2 separate regions of the Homo sapiens genome follow, and region 2 is linked to region 1. Evidence: promoter capture Hi-C in human tissues and cell types (Jung and others, 2019). All regions are on one chromosome and are shown on one strand. Each heading gives the region's core, a stretch centred on a gene start or on the middle of the fragment in contact. The rest is flanking DNA. Distances are from core to core; before and after follow the strand shown. Region 1 holds the start of RIPPLY3 (ripply transcriptional repressor 3). Region 2 overlaps TTC3 (tetratricopeptide repeat domain 3).

Region 1 (2,636 bases), core at 82-2,581:
TAGCTGGGATTACAGGAGCCTGCCACCACGCCCGGCTAATTTTTTTATTTTTAGTAGAGACGGGTTTCACCATATTGGCCAGACTGATCTCGAACTCCTGACTTCAAGTGATCCATCCACCTGCCTCGGTCTCCCAAAGTGCTGGGATTACAGGTGAGAACCACCGCGCCTGGCCTAGTTCTTCGATTTTTTAACATCCATCACAGTAACTTAAATTATATAAAGTAACTACCCCTGAGGAGCCCGGGGTAGTTGAAGGCCCTCCAGCGCCTTCGGTGTTCTGTCGCAGTGCTCTACGTGTGAAACCGCTTTCTCCCACCCTGGCCGTGCGCTGGTGATGGTGGCAGCGGCGCTCCAGCGACGCCCGGGGAAGTGTCCCCAGGGTCGGGCAAGGTCGCTTCTGCTGGTCGGGAGGCCCTTTCTAAGCCTGGCTGGGGCTAACCGAAGGAGAAGCCCGCCGCTCCAGGCTTTATTAAAAATTCGCATTCTTTCCAAGGCCGCCATCGGTGGGAAGGGTGCGCTCGTAGCACCCCTCTTGCTCGGTTCCATTCCTGGCCTTCTGTCTCCTGGAAGGGTCGCCGCGCCCCACCCCACCCGCTTCGCCACGGGTTCGAGCCCTGGCGTCGGGGCGTCCGGGAGCCCACTGTCCAGCACCGAAGGCAAGGCCGGTGCACGCGGACCCGAGGATTCGGTAGATGTCCCCGAAGACCCGCTGCCGCTCTAAGGCGGTGGAAGCGAGATTCTCCGGAAACCCAGGGAATCCGATGCTCGCACAGGACCAAAGCCCGAGGCCGCGGGGACCACAGAGGGACGGAGAAGCCGGGACTCCTCACATCCCACATCCGGCAGGGGAAGCCCAGCAGGTGAGCGCAGGTCCCCCCAGTCCCCGAGGGAGTGCGCCCGACGGAAACGCCCCTAGCCCGCGGGCCTCGCTTTCCTCTCCCGGGTTCCTGGGTCACTTCCCGCTGTCTCCAGCCCGAGCTCGTGGCCCCAATCCCTGGTACCTCCATCCTCTGGTCACCCCTTCTCTGGTGCCCCCTCCCCGACTTTTCTTTGTCCCGTCCCCACCCTTGCCCGGGCCTGCCGGACCCCCCTCCTTGACACCCGGCGCCACCTCCTTGAGCTTTTCTCGTCTCCTCCCCATCCCCGGCTCCCTGGTCCCCTCCCGGAACTTCTCTGGTCCCCTCCGCTCCTCCGACCCGGGCTTTTCCTTCGTACCCTGCGGCCCCCTCCGCACCCCTCACGGAGCTCCTCGGGTCCTGCCCCCTCCCAGCGCTTGCCCGCGCCGCCCCGCCCCCGTTTTTAAACCTGGCGCGCGGGTAGGTGAGCGCGTTAGCCCGAGTGGATCTAGGCGCGCTCGTAGGCCGGCGCCGCAGCAAGGGGCGCGGGCTCCGCCGGCACCATGGAGCCCGAAGCGGCGGCCGGAGCCCGGAAGGCGCGGGGGCGCGGCTGTCACTGCCCCGGGGACGCTCCCTGGAGGCCTCCGCCACCGCGCGGGCCGGAGAGGTGAGGGTGGCCCCGCGCCCCGGTGGACGCGCTGAGAGGCGTGCGCGGTGGCGGTGCGGGGAGCGCAGCGAGCGGGAGGCTGGGGCGCTGCTGAACCCCCGATCCCCAGCGGAGCTCCGGAGCTCGACGGCGACGCCAAGCAAGCTCCTGAGCCGGCAGCCGGGTTCCCGGGAGGGGCGCTCAGTTCTCCGGTTCCAACGCACAGCTCTGAAGTGCGGAGGCCCAGGATGTAGCTGGCCAGGAAAGGGGCCGACGCTTCCGTGTAGAGGAGATCTCAGTTAGCCAGCCGGGGACACTGCAGTCTCGGGCTCCTAAGCCAGCCTTGCAAAGGCAATCTCTCACCTTGCTACTTTCTCGGTAGCCGTTTCTGTTGTCCCTGGATTGGGGGCTCGGCGTTCGCTGTCCCTGGGCACCAACCCTTTTAAAGACAGTAACGTTGTAGGAAATCAAATTAGCCAGGGAGGTAGGGAAGGGACCGGGTAGGCCGGATGGGCCAGGTAGCCAGGCAGGAGAAAGATTCCCTCTTTTTTTTTTTTTTTTTTTTTTTTTTGAGACAGGGTCTCACTGTGTCGCCCAGGCTGGAGTGCAATGGCGTGATCTCGGCTCACGGGAACCTCCGCCTCCCGGGTTCAAGCGATTTTCCTGCCTCAGCCTCCTGAGTAGCAGGGATTACACGCGCCTGCCACCACGCCCGGCTAATTTTTGTATTTTTAGTAGAGACTGGGTTTCGCCATGTTGGCCAGGCTGGTCTCGAACTCCTGACCTCGAGTGATCCAGTAACCTCAGCCTCCCAAAGTGCTGGGATTACAGGTGTGAGCCACCGCGCCCAGCCCCCTTTTTTTGTTTGTTTGTTTTTCATCCTACAACTCTGTAAAATCATCTCTGTAGAATCAATCTCCTTCCGTGACCAAGGTGGTGTGATTGAAATTAACCGGGGACAAAGTAGACAGCTATAGTTGGGGAACCCCGAATTGAACAATTCAGCCAGGATTTGCAGGGAGAGAAATCTCTCAACTAATGGGTTCCCTGATAATTGTGTGAGATTCGGGACCTCCCTTCTCAAAGCTTAACTGGAGACAGAGAACTGGGGACGTAGCAGGAGAGAAAAAACACAAATGACAGTAATTTAT
Region 2 (2,636 bases), core at 93-2,592, 98 kb after region 1:
CAGAGGAGAGGGTAGTATGTTCATAGGCTAAGCCAAGGAGGGCCTTGTAGGCTGTGTTAAGGCTTTTGGCCTTTAAGAGCAATAAGAAAGTAAAGGATTTTAAACTGAGGAGAGAGAGCATGATTAGCACTTAAAAAAAAAATTTGAGCATAGTGAAAATGGATCTGAAGGGGATGTAGTGTGGATGTAGGTTAGGAGGCTGTTGCAGTAGCCCAGGCCAGAGATGATGGCTTCCAGCAGAATATTGACAGTGGGAATGGAAAAGTAGAAGGATTCAAGAGTTTAGAGGTGAAGCTGACAGAAGTTGCTCGTGGTTGGTGTTGGAACTTGAGAGTGAAGGTGGTTGGAACTGTTCTGACGTTTCTGCCTTAAGCAGCATCATGGATTATGGGCCTACTCACTCACATTGGGATTGCTGGAAGAGGAATAAATTTGTAGGAGGTAGAACTGGACTTCACTCTCGGACACTGAATCGAAGTGCCTTTGAAGGCCAGGCATGGTGACTCACGCCTGTAATCCCAGCACTTTGGGAGGCCGAGGTGGGAGGATCACCAGAGGTCAGGAGTTCGAGACCAGCCTGGCCAACATGGTGAAACCCTTTCTCTACTACAACTACAAAAATTAGCTGGGCGTGGTGGTAGGTGCTTCTAATCTCAGTTACTCGGGAGGCTGAGGCAGGAGAATTGCTTGAACGTGGGAGGCGGAGGTTGCAGTGAGCCAAAGTAGCGCCATTGCGCTCCAGCCTCGGCGACGAGCAAAACTCCGTCTCAAAAAAAAAAAAAAAAAAAAAGAAAGAAGTGCCTTTGAAGCATCCAAATTCCAATGTTGTGTAGGTAGTGAGTTATATGGGTCTGGAACTCAAAGGAGGGTTTGGATGGGAAACATGTTTGGAATAGCCAGCCTCCATGATTTGAAGTTGTAGATGTGGGTGAGACTGCTTACAGAGAAGTTTTTCTCAACCTGGACTGCACTTTGGAATCACTGAACTTTGACAAATACCACCCACCCCAGAGATTCTGATTCAATTAACCTAGAGTAAAGCTTGGGCATTGGGCTTCTAGGAACTCCCCAGATGGTACTAATGTGCAGTCACGGTTGAGACCCACTGGCCTAGAGAGAACCTAGGCTGAGACTAGGAGAGGAATCAGGATTGAGCCTTGAACACATATGGCCAATTGGAGAAGGATGAGCCTGCCCAGGAGATTATTAAGATGTGACCAGAGAGGTGGAACAAAGACTAAGTGTGGTGTCATAGAAGTAAGTAAAAGAGTGGTCAGCAGTGTCTGTTGGCTACTGAGAAGCCAGTTACAGTGGAACTTAGATTTGGCAACATGGACATCATTCACTAACCTTAGGGGGAGCTGTCAGTGGGAAGCTTGAAACATGCCAATTAGATGGGGTTGAGAAATGCAAGGAAATGGAGACAGCTAGCGTAGGCAGCTTTTAAAGGTGTTTGGGGAGAGAGACCCAGGGTGAGTCTCTTTAAATGGTAAAGAAAACTTACCTTATTCAAGAGTTCCAGAAGAAGGTGGCACTAGGGTTGTATATTCAGTGGCTCAACAATGTCATCAGAGACTTAGATTTTTCCAGCCTCAGTGTGTGACTTGGTCCTCAGGCTGTCCCCTCAGAATGTAGGATGGCTGCTGTAATTCAGACATCTTTAGCAGAAGAAGGACAACTTTGTCTTATGTCCTTTAAAAAAAATCTTAATACACATGCTGAAAAGTATACAAGTGTTAAGTGCAGCTGGAATTTTCAGAAGTCAAACAACTGTAACCAGCATGCAGATCACAACCCCAGTACCCCAGAAGTTCCTCTTAGTCATGACCCTCCTCCTAGTCATGATCCATCTCCTCCCCCAGGAGAACTACCATCCTGGCTTCCAGTGGTTAATTTTGCCTATTTTAGTACAATGTAATGAAATAATATACTATGTGTTCTTTTATGTTTGGTTTTCAGCATCGTTTTTGAGATCCATATTGTTGCATGTAGTTGTAAAGTGTTCATCTATTGCATGAATATACCACATTTTATCCATTCTATTGTTGATGGGCATTTGGGTAGCTTCTCCTATTTGGCTTTTACAGGTAGTATTGTTGTGAACATATGTATTTATTTCTGTTGAGTGTATAATTAAGGAGTGGAATTGTTGGGACAGAGGGTATGCTTATATGCATTTAGCTTTCCTGTGTGATTGTATCATTTTGTACTCTTACAGCAGCATATGAGAATTTCAGTTCTGTGCCCTCAACACTTACTATTTTTCATCTTTTATTTTAGACATTCTGGTGGGTGTGTAGTGGTATACCGCTGTGATTATAATTTGTATTTTCATAAATTGATTAAGGATGTTTCAGATTTTCATAAGGTTATTGACCATTTGGATATTCTCTTTTGTGAAGTGCCTGTTGAAGTCTTTTGCTATTTTTTTCTCTTGAGTAGAATGCCCTATTCATTTTTAGGAGTTTTTCTTTTGTATTCTGAATATGAGTCATTGGTCAGATATATGTATTGCAAATATCTTCTCACATTCAGTGGCTTGCCTTTTCACTGTTGATGTTTTCACAAACAAGTTACTAATTTTAATGTAGTACAGTTTATCAGTTTTTTCCTCTGTGATAAGCTCTTTTTGTGTT

What was found. Contacts are between HindIII fragments. The study calls those that stand out against the background at their distance.
Region 2: a fragment that was not itself captured here is called in contact with the fragment with the promoter of RIPPLY3 in region 1 in 4 of the 25 tissues and cell types used here (H1 embryonic stem cells, IMR-90 fibroblasts, mesendoderm cells and 1 more).

What each region holds. Positions count from the first base shown.
Region 1 is chr21:37,005,371-37,008,006 of GRCh38, forward strand. It overlaps RIPPLY3 (ripply transcriptional repressor 3), which reads left to right and starts at 1,332. Exons shown (of 4, transcript NM_018962.3): 1 at 1,332-1,506. The coding sequence starts at 1,403. RefSeq lists an enhancer at 673-1,173 and a silencer at 1,397-1,506. The HindIII fragment of the contact is 12,344 bases long and covers 1-2,636 here.
Region 2 is chr21:37,103,820-37,106,455 of GRCh38, forward strand. All of the region lies in intron 10 of TTC3 (tetratricopeptide repeat domain 3), which reads left to right. Among named protein-coding and RNA genes, the nearest start is that of TTC3, 32 kb to the left of the region's middle. The HindIII fragment of the contact is 5,828 bases long and covers 1-2,636 here.